Regions from separate parts of the Homo sapiens genome. Here region 2 is linked to region 1. The links are contacts of gene promoters, found by promoter capture Hi-C in blood cells and fetal thymus (Javierre and others, 2016). All regions are on one chromosome and are shown on one strand. Each heading gives the region's core, a stretch centred on a gene start or on the middle of the fragment in contact. The rest is flanking DNA. Distances are from core to core; before and after follow the strand shown. Region 1 holds the start of MYCBP2-AS2 (MYCBP2 antisense RNA 2). Region 2 overlaps MYCBP2 (MYC binding protein 2).

Evidence for each region. The method cuts DNA at HindIII sites, captures the fragments that hold promoters and counts their contacts. A CHiCAGO score of 5 or more calls a contact.
Region 2: a fragment that was not itself captured here is called in contact with the fragment with the promoter of MYCBP2-AS2 in region 1 in 3 of 17 cell types (total B cells, monocytes and megakaryocytes); the score reaches 6.4 in total B cells.

What each region holds. Positions count from the first base shown.
Region 1 is chr13:77,079,224-77,085,954 of GRCh38, forward strand. It overlaps MYCBP2-AS2 (MYCBP2 antisense RNA 2), which reads right to left and starts at 1,967. Exons shown (of 2, transcript NR_170173.1): 1 at 1,691-1,967; 2 at 1,288-1,438. It overlaps MYCBP2 (MYC binding protein 2), which reads right to left. Exons shown (of 83, transcript NM_015057.5): 63 at 3,809-3,969; 64 at 2,614-2,770; 65 at 2,204-2,428. It overlaps MYCBP2-AS1 (MYCBP2 antisense RNA 1), which reads left to right. Exons shown (of 4, transcript NR_046716.1): 3 at 3,787-3,889. The HindIII fragment of the contact is 5,615 bases long and covers 1-2,115 here.
Region 2 is chr13:77,187,678-77,193,760 of GRCh38, forward strand. It overlaps MYCBP2 (MYC binding protein 2), which reads right to left. Exons shown (of 83, transcript NM_015057.5): 28 at 4,002-4,136; 29 at 2,575-2,658; 30 at 1,274-1,370. Among named protein-coding and RNA genes, the nearest start is that of MYCBP2-AS2, 110 kb to the left of the region's middle. The HindIII fragment of the contact is 291 bases long and covers 3,614-3,904 here.

The DNA of each region.
Region 1 (6,731 bases), core at 717-3,216:
CTATATTTTCATTACTTTTGGAAGTATAAAGAGGGAAGGTAACTGAACTAACAAATACTTATGAGTGTCACAATGTACCCAGACTTCCTTACAGATTTGAAGTAGGATATATGAGAGGAGGTTCTATCCCCCAAGATACTTGCCAAACTAGGGAAGGCAACATTAATACACAAAATAAATGTCAAACAGTACAAGTTCAATACATGTTCAAACTAGTGTCAAATATCTTAAGGCTGAATAAGTTTTACGCAAAGCACATCAAGAAATAGATTAACATTAATTCCTTGGAGAGCTGCATAATATGAGTGCTGTAGGCTGATACAACTCAAATCAACAAATGCTGTGTACAAGGCTCTGTGGTAGGCAGGTTGAGGAACATGGAGGTACATAACTCAAGGAAAACATACATACAGGTTGAGTATCCTTTATTAGAAATATTTGGGACTAGAAGTGTTTTGGATTAGGGATTTTTTAGGATTTTGAAATACTCTATTTGCATTATCCTTACTGGCTGGGCACCCCAAATCTGAATATCTAAAACCAGAAATGCTCCAATATGCATTTCCTTTAAGTGTCATATCTGTGTTCAAAAAGTTTCAGATTCTGTAGCATTTTGGATTTTCAGATTTGGAATGCTCAACCTATAACATAGAGGAAGCCTGTTAAAAGGAAAGTAGATGTCAGCTTACATGTTGGGAATTTTGAAAATGAATACTGTTATGATTATTTCCTCTTAGAAAAGACAGAAGTGTTAAATTGATTGCAATCATTGTTCTGAGGGAGAGTATGTCCTTGCTTAAAATGTACCATGAGCCAAAGATAGCTTTGCACTGAACAGTGAGTTCTAGCTACAAAAATGTTTTGCTTTGTTACACTTGACTTTCCAGTAAGATAAAGTAGTTACACCAGTGGAAATTCTTAGGTCTGAGGAGGAAATAGCTCATATTATATTAGCTAAGCCTCTTTTACTTACTCAATACCAGGGAGGAATAGAACCTGCACTGATGTACAGGAGTTGGAGGTTGCTCTGATTGCAGACTGGCCTGCATCCAGGTTATCTGAGACCCAATCCTACCACTGTGGCTCTTCCTGAGAAAGGAAATATGCAAATGGCACAGGAGAAGCCAGGCAATGGTTCAAGGAGAGCCATTAATACTGTATCTGCTAGCAAGCCACATCCATTCTGAGGAAAAAAATTCTAAATGAGGTAGAAGAAAGGCAGTCTGGCAGTTAGTGCTATTTCTTTCTTGGTTGTTAATACTCAAGCAAATAGGACTCTTTTTTCTTGTTTAGTGCCTTTTATAAAAGAATATTTAATTCAGTTGAAACACATGGATGAACTAGGCTGAAGAGAATATAAATTATGATTATTTGGGACAGTCTGAAACTTATTTTTTATTTCATGAGGACTGTGGCAAAGTAGACACTTGAAGATAGGCTGGGTGCAGTGGCTCATGTCTGTAATCCTAGCACTTTGGGAGGCTGAGGTGGGCAGATCACTTGAGGCCAGGGGTTTGAGACCGGCCTGGACAACATGGTGAAACCCTGTCTCTACTAAAAATACAAAAATTAGCCAAGCATGGTGGCGTGTGCTTGTAATCCCAGCTACTCAGGAGGTTGAAGCAGGAGAATCGTTTGAACCTGGAGGCGAAGGTTGCAGTGAGCCAAGATTGTGCCACTGCACTCCAGCCTGGGTGACAGAGGGAGACTCCATCTCAGAAAAAAAAAAAAAAGCTGATTACACTATAGGTCAAAGATTATTATTAAGTGCCACCAGAGTAATACAAAAAGAATCAGCAGAGGGAAAGAGTAATTTTTTAGAGGAGTTACTTAGAATTTCTCTGCTGAGTTTGAGAGACCCTGGAAGAATTGATCAGCAGAGTTTAAGGGGAGGACTTCCAGGTCACGGGAAAATCTTAACCAAGGGAATGGCAGCAGAAAATTGTAGAGCAGACTTTCATTTTGCTTAGCTGTAGCCATGGTATATTTGTAATCAGACCTCTTTTCAGAAATGGAATTCCACAGTGCTCCCAATCATATTAATTTGTTTTTAGACTTAAGATTTATTTGGGGATTATAGCAATGATGTTTGGTTGGTGAAATTCCAGGTGATAAAGCTTGTTGCTAAATTCAGAAATGAAAGTGCATGAATACTAAGATCTGAAAAGAGCTAAAGAGCCGTAAATCACGTTTGCTTTCTTACCCCAAGATCTCGGGAATTGTCCACGTGAACAGACACATAGCGGGCATTGATTCCTTTTACACAGTTGATGGTGATGTTCTTAGTTTTGTTTTTATCTTCATCTCCTGATTCCCAAAAGGTTTCTGTGGAGCCGTCTGTCAAACTGCCAATCATGGCAGGTCGGCTTGAAGTTTTTATGTCAACAATGCTGGTTAAGTCCTTTAAGCACATTACTATGCATAATTCCTATCAGAAACAAATATAAGTACTTATGATACTTAAAAGCAAATCTTTCGTGATGATAAAACAAACAGGTATAAGATAAAACATAATGGAAGACAGGATCAAATTGATTATGAATAACTTACAGTTTCTCCTTTGATGTATTATTAACTAACAGGACAACCAGGATAATAACTGAAATGACTGACCTGACTCATAGCTTCAAAGCCAGACTGTATACTGATGCTAAAACTCTCTTCACTATCGCCATCATCTGACTTTGACAAAATATTGTTAATGTGATGAAAGACGTTGCTCTGATGAAGGAACTGGTGATCAGATTGCTTGAATTTGAGACTCCAGCACCTAAAAAGGCGATATATAAGCAATATACGAAATAATTATTTTCCAGGAACATCTAAGGAACTCTTAGATGAGTACTCTGTAGCTAATATCTCAAGAAATTTTAATGTTCTAGTAACAGACATTTTAAAAATTCAGGGAAGAAAATCATTCCTATTGTTTTTGTTTTTGAGAAATAAAGGTAACTTCTTTGGAACAAGGTAAATTCTAAGGAAAGTTGACCCATTTTAAATATAAAAGAATTAGACAGATGAAGATCAAGGCTACAGAAGCAAAAAGGGTAATGAATCTATTGTGTAAACAAGTGGTACACCAACTGCAACAACCCCTCAAATTTATTACTCTTACAATGCCATACTAATTCATCAGGGTATAGTTTATCTTGTAGTTCAAAAATCTTGTGAGGAGGACAAAGAGAAATCTCTCTTCCACTGGTCTTATCATTAGTAACATGGGAAGCCCAAGCATTCCATCAATCTATTTCTTGTATACATTAATTAGGAGAATTTATTTATAAGTGTGAGTCCAGTATGTGAATCTAGTAACAAGGTTCACAGTGTAAAAGCAATGCTAAATTCTCAACACATTTCAAATTGAAATTGGAATCTGTTGAGCATCTGTGATGCTCCTTAAGGTGCTTTTAGGACTGGGTGCATACAACCAGGCTCTGTTTTCCCCAAGATTCTTTTCAAGTCAAAACTCTATTTTGGTTTTTGTTTTTGAGATTTCATTTTCCCTCTCTCTTTTTGGGACATTTAAGTGATTTGAGGTAGGAGACTGGGGAAAGTGAGGGAGATTGCTACAGTGATAATTTAGGGCACTAAGAATTACATTAGCCACATTTTACAGGAGGGCAAACAAATGTTAACTAAGAGGAAGGACCATTCTAAAAATTATGACTGTAAGGAGGGAGGCACCATCTATATAATGTAGGGATTCTATCTTACTATTTAAAGAGCTTTTTTTGGAGCATTTCATACTTTGAATATTCCATAAACTCTCTTGTCCAATGTACCTAGGATATGTGGATACCAAAATTACCTCAGGGCCATTTGCTGTAATGAACTGCCGCTGGGGAGAGACATCATAAGGTCTGAGATGGTCTGCAGCAAGCGGTGAAAGGTGTGTGGTAAAGGATGAGCAGCTTCCCCGGCAATCACTATGTCTGAGAGTGGATGTTCACATACTCTTGTATCTTTCTCCTAAGGCAGAAATTGAAACAAGTTTATCAGTTTGTGTGCTGGAAGGAATCCTCTTCACAAAAGACTATTATGTATACTTAAAAAATGGTCATGTAACAGAAATACAAACAACAAAACCAAATTGTACCCAGAAAGATACAGTAATTTTAACTAATTATGCTTGTATTATTTTAGGGAAAAAAGCTGTAAGTTTAGTCACAAGCAAAATCAGCATGCAAATGAATAAATGTATCAATTCTAGTGTACTCACAAAGATACCTGTAGGGTGAATCCACATGTGTATGCATGTGTATGTGTAGTGTGTGTGCATATATATGTATGTGTATGGATATATACACATACATATATGTAGGTATGTTTTGTGTGTATGTTTATGTATAAAAAATAACATATGTTTAGAAGTTGGGGTGGTCACTAACTCATACAGCATTTTTATGTGAATTAGAAAAAAAAGCTCCTTTCTACGCAAATGGACCACAGCTAGGAAAGAGAAGTAGGGGTTGAATTTCATTTCTCATTACAACCCTCAGATGGCTCCATTAATAATATTAACTATGGAATAACTTTTTATTATTTTGAGTAGATAACACACATCATAATAAAATATTCAAGAGGTATAAAAAAATACCATAAAAAGTCTCCCTGTCTCTACAGCCCAGCCACCTAGATGCCCTCCCACTGGCAATTTCTATTACCAGTTTCTTGGACTGTCTATAAATATTGTTCATTTACACAAATGGCAGCACTGGAAACAAACTGATCTGTGTTCTTTTAACAATAATTTATCTTTGAGATTATTACTTATTAGATATGTATGTAACATATATTATCCCACTGCATAGTATTCTGATGAATAAAAATACCATAGTTTATTTCATCAGTCCACTTCAGAACAGTCATTTAGGTTGTTTCCAATCTTTTGTTTTTATATAACATTCTGCAATGAATCAACTTGTATATCTGTCTTTTCACACATGCATATATGATAAGGAGAACTTCATAAAAGTGGAATTACTGAATGATTTTTAATGTGAATTTTGATAGATCTTACCAAACCATTCTCTAAGAAGCTGCTACTCCACAGCAAAGAATGTTTGTTCTTCCATCTTGCTACCAATGTAAGCCCATCAAACTTTTTAAACTATGTCACTGAGCTAAGTAAAAGATGGTTGCTTTTTGCCTCCTTCTTTGTGCATATATTGATTACTGATATAGAAGTTCTGGTTTATATTATCTTCTACTGATATAGAAGTTCTGGTTTATATTGTCTTCTAAAGAATGTAGTTTTGTTCTTACAGGGAGATAGCAGGCCATCTAGATTCCATCAAGGCTTGGCATTCGACTTTGTTAGACTGGGGTTATTTCAGTTTTGCCCTTGATTTTAGGCACTGCCCTTACTCCTAAGGCATGGTCTGTATTCCTTGAGTATGGTCTTTCTGGGGTTTCAAGGGCATGCCAGGAGTATTCATCACGCTCACCCCACCTCTGGTTGGACTAAAACTTCAGAACCCAGCTCTGAAGCTAAGAATCTGTTCAGTTCTCAGCTTACAATTCATTTCCACTGCTAGATCCTCCAGAGAAATTGCATGCCCAGTCTAAGAGTGGCCAGGACCCTAGGGATATTTTTATGCAAAAATTTTAGACTCCCTTTCTGCAGCTCTGTACCACTAGTGCCCTGCTTCCCACATCCCAAAGTTACAGTCCTAAACTTTGATCTCTGCCAACACAACTGACGTACTCTGCTTGGGCTCTTTTCCCAATTGTGGGGCTTACCTCATGCCCTTTTCTTCTCTCAAGGATTACAGCCCTGTACTGGTCACTCCTCAGAGCCTATGAACAATTGTTTTAAATATTTTGCCCAGCTTTTTGTTACTTACTATAAGAACTAATGCTGACACTGGCTGTTTCATCGTAACTATAACTAGAACTCTGCCAAACAACAAGTTTTGAGATGTACTATTATTGCCATTCCATTTAAAATATTTTCTGTTATAATTCTTCTTTGATGCAACTCATTTGGAAGCGTTACTTAATTTCCCTATAAATATTTTTCTTGTTATTGTTTTGTTATCTAATTCTTATATACTAGCAATAAAGACTGAGGACATGGTGGGAAGAAAACCAATTATTTCAAGTTTGTTAAAACTTGCTTTATGTGTCCAGTAAACAGTCAATTTCCATAGACATTTGTGTGTATCTGAAAAGAATGTAAACAACTATATGCAATGTTTTGTATATTCTATCAAGACTGTCAATCATTCAAATCTGTGTACTTTCTGATTCTTTTTCTCTGCCTGACCTATCCAGTACTAAAAAGAGTGTTATGGTACTATACACAAAACAGCCACAAATTCTCTGTCGCTCTTTCCATCAACAGGTGGAGTTTATTTCTCAGTCTTTGAATTTGACCGGCCTTGTGAATTATACTAGCTAATGGAAGGTGGCAGAAGCATGGCATATGAGTTTAGTGTTCGCCATTTTGGCTTTGCAGCTTCTGTGCTCTCTTTCTTGAATGCTTCTGGCATCTGAACAAACCTAGGCCAGCATTCTGGAGGATAAAAGAGCTCAGGGGGTACCACTTGAAGCACACTATGTAACCAAAACAGGAAAGAGTCATTCCTCTCAGTGGAGCCTTGCTGCAATTGCCAACCCACAGACTGTCAGCAAATAAACAACTGTTTTAGTCCAGTGAGTTCTGGGGTAGTTATGCAGGAACAGATAGCTGTTACAGGTATATGACAATCTCACATTGTAACTGTAGA
Region 2 (6,083 bases), core at 2,509-5,008, 110 kb after region 1:
TCGTAAGAAACAAGCAAGCATGTTGTAGAGCATCCTGTATTTGATACGTACTAATAAGTTTTTTTGCATATAAAAATGGTCTGGGAAGGCCGGGTGCGGTGGCTCACACCTGTAATCCCAGCACTTTGGGAGGCCGAGGCGGGTGGGTCATGAGGTCAGGGGTTCGAGACCAGCCTGTTCGAGGTCAGGGGTTCGAGACCACCACCAACATGGTGAAACCCCCTCTCTACTAAAAATACAAAAATTAGCTGGGCGTGGTGGCAGGCGCCTGTAATCCCAGCTACTCAGGAGGCTGAGGCAGGAGAATTGCTTGAACTCAGGACGCGGAGGTTGCAGTGAGCCAAGATCGTGCCACTGCACTCCAGCCTGGGCGACAGAGCGAGACTCTGCCTCACCAAAAAAAAAAAAAAAAAAAGGTCTGGGAAGATACACACCAAAATGTAAATAGTAGGTATATATGGTGATCATGAGAATGGGAGAAAAATCTTTCATATACTTTTAGGATACTTTTATCTCATTCCTACCAGGAATATATATTCACTTGGTGGGTTGAAAAATAAATTTAAAAGGGAAAGAAACATTCTTCCTATGCATTTTACTAATATGAAAGACTACTAGCTATATTAATAAATCACATTCAGATGGTGCCTTACAGTTCCAAAAACATCTTACACCCCTTATCTCATTAGAAATTCAAAATGCTATGATGTAATTTACTTAGGTAACATACGTAAGAATCCTCAATTAATACATGAGAGATCAAGACCTTAATTTATACTTTCATTTATTTACATCATGTTGACTTTCCATTCTGCACTGTTAACCTCAATGGCACTGTGCTTCTTCATGTGTACAATGGGGATGGCAAGTGGTTCAACAAACTTCCTAGTTAGATATGCAACTCTTCCACCTAGTTCCTCAAGTAGTAATCACGCTTTTTTGGGCCAGCACCATCCTTAACTTTTCCTTCATTTTCTAATTCATTCAGCATATGCATTCATATATGATTTACTAGAAAAGCAAATCGTTATTTGTTTCAAAAACAGCAAGGCCAATTCATCTGGTCATGTTAAAATCATAGGCCAACACCTCCATTTTTCTATGATTTAAAGTATACTTTATCTGTGGTCTAGAATATAAATGTGAATACAAAACCAAATCTGAGTTTATAAATCTAGGCTAAGATAAACTTACAAGAGCAGCTAAACTCTAAACATCAAAATGTATCTGAGGACTGAAGAGAAAAGCTGAAATTTTTTAAAACATGGCTTACCACTGAGACAGTTCTTGCAAAAGACCTCTTTAAAATGTGTACAGGTTCACTGGTTTGCTGTTTGCCTTTTGAAGCACTGCCATCACTGGTTGGAAGTCTAAAGGCAGTAGACACATATAAAATTATGTTAGAAAGTCCAATGTCATTTTTTCTTTTTAAAGTATATTATACATTTTTGAATGGGAAAATAAATTATATATTTAAATTTTTTTGCCAGGTAATGCCAATACAGGGCTTTTTTGAAACATTTTTCCAAGCTAAACAAAGTTTTTAGCATATGGGCACTTCCTTTAAATCCTACCTTCGCAAGACCGAGTAGTAGAGGCTTTTTCCTCTTCTTAGAGAACATATATAATGTATATAACATATAACTTATATTCTCTAGTAATGCTACTATTAATGCTGTTATTTAAAAGTTATTCAACCAGTGAGTACCTGGGAGTAGTCCAATGCAACACGTTATGTTTGTAGAGCTACATATTACAAACAGTAACTATAACAGATTGCACGGTGCATAAAAACCAAACAAACGAAAAAACCTTTTGGGGAAAAATAATGTTTGTAACCACAAAGTGATTACCAGAAAGAAAGATAGGGAGATAGAATCACAGTTCTAGACCATTTCCTTTGATTTTTTACTGCTTAACGAATGACAACATTTTTCAGTAACGGTTTATATCCATTTGAATTCTTTATTCTAAAAGTATTGCAGTAGTCTAGAAATAAATAAGGTAAACACAGGCATATGCCTTTATACATGCTTAAATTATTGTAAGTTAAAATTTTTCAATAATGTTAAAAATATAGTAAATATTATATGAGCAAGTTATTATTTGGTATTTTAGCTAAAGGTGAAAATTTACCAACAGTAGGGAATTTTCCAACTCATTTTATCAGTCTTATGAGACTACAATATATCAACCAGGCCTGCATCTATAGTCCTCCCCATCTTCCCTGCAATCTCACTTCTCCAAGACAAATTTTATTCTTTTACAACATTTGAAATTAGTAAGAAAATCAATGGATAGATTTTTTTTAAAGTCAGTAAAATATTGTTATTGGTATAATACAGATAATCTGAGTAATCAGGCAAAGTTTAAAGTTAAGCCTGTATGGAAAATGTTTAAAAATATACAAAATATTAACTGTTTTTGTTAAATATATTTATAGTTCTACCAGCATATTATAATTTGCTGAATGCTTCAAATAATTTCTCCCTATTATGCCACGTTTTGTAATGATTCTACTTCATTATAGCAAAATAATAAACCATACTAATTCAGTATAAATATGCTAAATACCTGTATAATAACTGAGGTATCTGACCCGCATTAACATCTGTACCATTATTTGATTTCTTTGAACTCTTGAACTGGAAAACAACCCTAAGAAGAGAAAACAATGATACCAAAAACAACATGATCATTACAGGAAATAAGAAATTTAAGAAACATGTTTTCAAATCTTATGTCAATGAAAATGATTCACTCTTTTACATAAAGAAAAGCAAAAAGGTATTTTCTAGATTTTCATTCTAGCTCTGAATGGGTTAGTCAGTAAAATGAAAGAACTGAACGTGATTAGGACTCCTAAATGAGTAGCTGTCCTGTCCCTCCTAGCTCTCCAACTCAGCTTTAACCACAGCAGTAAACTTCTAAAATTTCTACTTACAACTAAGTAGTATAATATCTGCTTGACTAGCTGCATGATAAGCTTTAGCCTCAGTGTGCCATGACATTCCAAGTCTGAATGAACTGTCTATGAAAATCATACAGTCCAGGGTCAAAGTAGTCACTTAGTTCTAAAGACATTCTTAAGTTGATGCACATAACAACAGATGTGATTTTTCTACAGTAGTCTCCTTGAATATTCAGCAACAGGAAATTCACCTCACAAATAAGTCTATTTCTTTTTTTGGTCAGCTTTGTTATGAATTGACCTGCACTGGAATATATACTGTTATATAACTTCAACTGATTTCAAATAGTTTATGCTCAGGAGTAATCAAGAATAAACTGAATTTATCTTACAAATGATAGTCCTTTAGAATACATAAATCATAGTAATAGAATATTGAAATGTTGGATTTAGAGTCAACAGGTTACAGGTCTGACCTTGGTTTTAACCACATGACTCTCAGGAAATAGCAAATAATTTCACCTTTTTATTTCTCTAGTCCCTGGAGTATAAAATGGGGCTAATAACTGCTTCACAAAGCTATTGAGGGCATCAAATCAGATAAAATATAAGAATATGAACTGAAAAGTACTCTATACGTGAAAGTTATTTTAAAACAGCAAAATTTTCCCTATATTTTATTAAAATAACACACATTGCTGAAGCTTTGAAATTTTAAACTGTTTTCTCATGCACTATCAAATTTAATATCACATATCTACTTCTTTTTTATGGTTCCAAACTCCTCATTTTCCTTGTCACCTTCCTCTATATAATTTCTAATTTGGTAATCAAGCTCGTAAACAATGTAATACCCAGAAATATATACAAATACCATCTGACAGGAGCAAAGTACAGTGGTCTTATTATCTCCTTGTTCTGTCTAGACCTCAATTTGGCATGAGGTTACATGAATTTAATTTTTAGCAGTTATATTATGCTCTAGTCTTCCTAAGCTTTTGAATCCTGCTGAAAGTACTCTGAATTTTCAAAACAATATTCCTCTAACAAAAATAAGTATTGCTTAAGTAACACTTGGGCATTTACTTACCCATCATCTGTGGTAATAGATGCCTGTCCATGAGATCCACAGTCACTGCTGGGTCCTGACACTCGGGCCCATGCCACATACCACCACCCAGCTTGCAGGAGAACAGGCTCATCAAACATCATTGCATATTTTTCTCTGAGAAAAAATTAGTGAGTCAAAAACAATATTTTCTTACTTCTCTGTCACATATATTTATTTTTTCAAAATCCCTTGTGAACAAAAACATGAAACTAACTGTATTATAAAATTCTTATCAAACAACATTAAAAACACTCTAAGAAGTCTGGACAAGAATGCAAGCAAATATAGTTATTTATGTTATGGTGATAGAATTACATTTCTTCCTCCTCTTCTTGAATTCTACAATATCCTTAAATGTTATAAAACTTTCATATTAAAATTAGAATGTTTTAAACTGATATTAAAAAACATTCAAATTTTGCTGGAAAATAAAAATCTGAACTTTAGTTTTAAAGCTCATTCATTCAGCTAAATAGTTTTGAAAGGCAGCATATTAAGAAAATGGCCCTGGAGTCAGGCAGCCTGGGTTCAAGGCCCAGCTCTGTGACCTGCTAGCAGGGCAACGCAGGGCAAGTTACTCTATCCTCTCAGTACCTTAGCTTCTTCACCTGAAAACTGTGGTGAAAATAATATCCTGCTCATAGAGTTGTCCTTTAGAATGAATTAAGTCAGATAGGTGTTTGGAGTCTGTCACATAATATCTATACAAACATTATTAATTTAGAAGAAGAAAAAAGACAATAAATAAGGGCATCTTCTAAAGGATATAAACAAGTTACAAAGTACTAGGTAACAGAGTGGAAGGAATGTTTATTGGTTGTAGCTGGAATTGAAAGAAGAATAAAGGGCATTTAAAGAAGCAGGAGAATGTCATGAAAAAATCTGTAGAGGTATGGAAGTACAAAAGAGGTCAGGAAATGACAAGGTGTTCATTATTAATTTCATTAATGCATTAAGACAGCTGTAGAAGAGTAGTGGTAGAAAGTCAAAAAAGATGCTGGATGTTATGGAAATCCTTCAATGCTCCCAATGCCTTAGGAGTCTGGGCTTTGTATATAAGCTAATGAAGAAATCCTAGACGATTCTCTATAAATGAAACTGTGCTTTATATTTTCGACTCAAACTCATATGGTCAAAAACAAATGGCAGCCAGGCACAGTGGCTCATTCCTGTAATCCCAGCACTTTCAGAGGCCAAGGCAGGAGGATCACTTGAGGTCAGGAGTTCAAGGCCAGCCTGGTCAGCATGGTAAAACCCCATCTCTACTAAAAATACAAACATTAGCCGGGCCTGGTGGCATGCGACTGTAGTCCCAACTACTCAGGAGGCTGAGGCATGAGAATCGCTTAAATCCGGGAGGCAGAGGTTGCAGTGAGTTGAGATCACACCACTGCACTCCAGCCTAGGTGATGGAGTGAGACTCTGTCTCAAAAATAAAAATTAATAAATGAATAAATAAAGAAATAAATAAATACGGCAAATGACAATGGCACCTTAAGGCTTTGCTGAAAATTAATCAATTAGCTTTCTTAAAATTTTCCCTAATATTCATTTGTATAAAACACTAAAGGTTACTAAAAAAATCTTGCGATATTAGTTAATGCCTAAGAAATAGTCAAAATTTTCTTTAGATTTACTCTTTTGTTTTCAAAAGTATTTATATCTTGTACAAGCAAAGTCAGTATCTTACGATCATCCTTGTTTCTGAAAATATACATTTTCACTAGCAAGAAAACCTACAAGGTTTTCCTAACATAGTTATTGTTGGGAAACATAGCACACTATTACTACTATGAAGCTCAGTTTATAATTTTTCTTATAATAATATTCCCTGCTTCAAACCAGGGAACACTGATCATAACACAATATTGAGATAATTCTTAGGATTACGTAGAGAGGACTGATAAAGTGTAAGTATCCTCTTACTTAATGAACCTTCATAAATAAACATACTAATTTTTATAAACTCCCAAAAGGTTTCAGTAAAGCTAGTCACCTCCCCAAGTGTGTTATTATCAAATATATTCTAGCAGCATGATGTCAGAGTACATGGGTAATCTG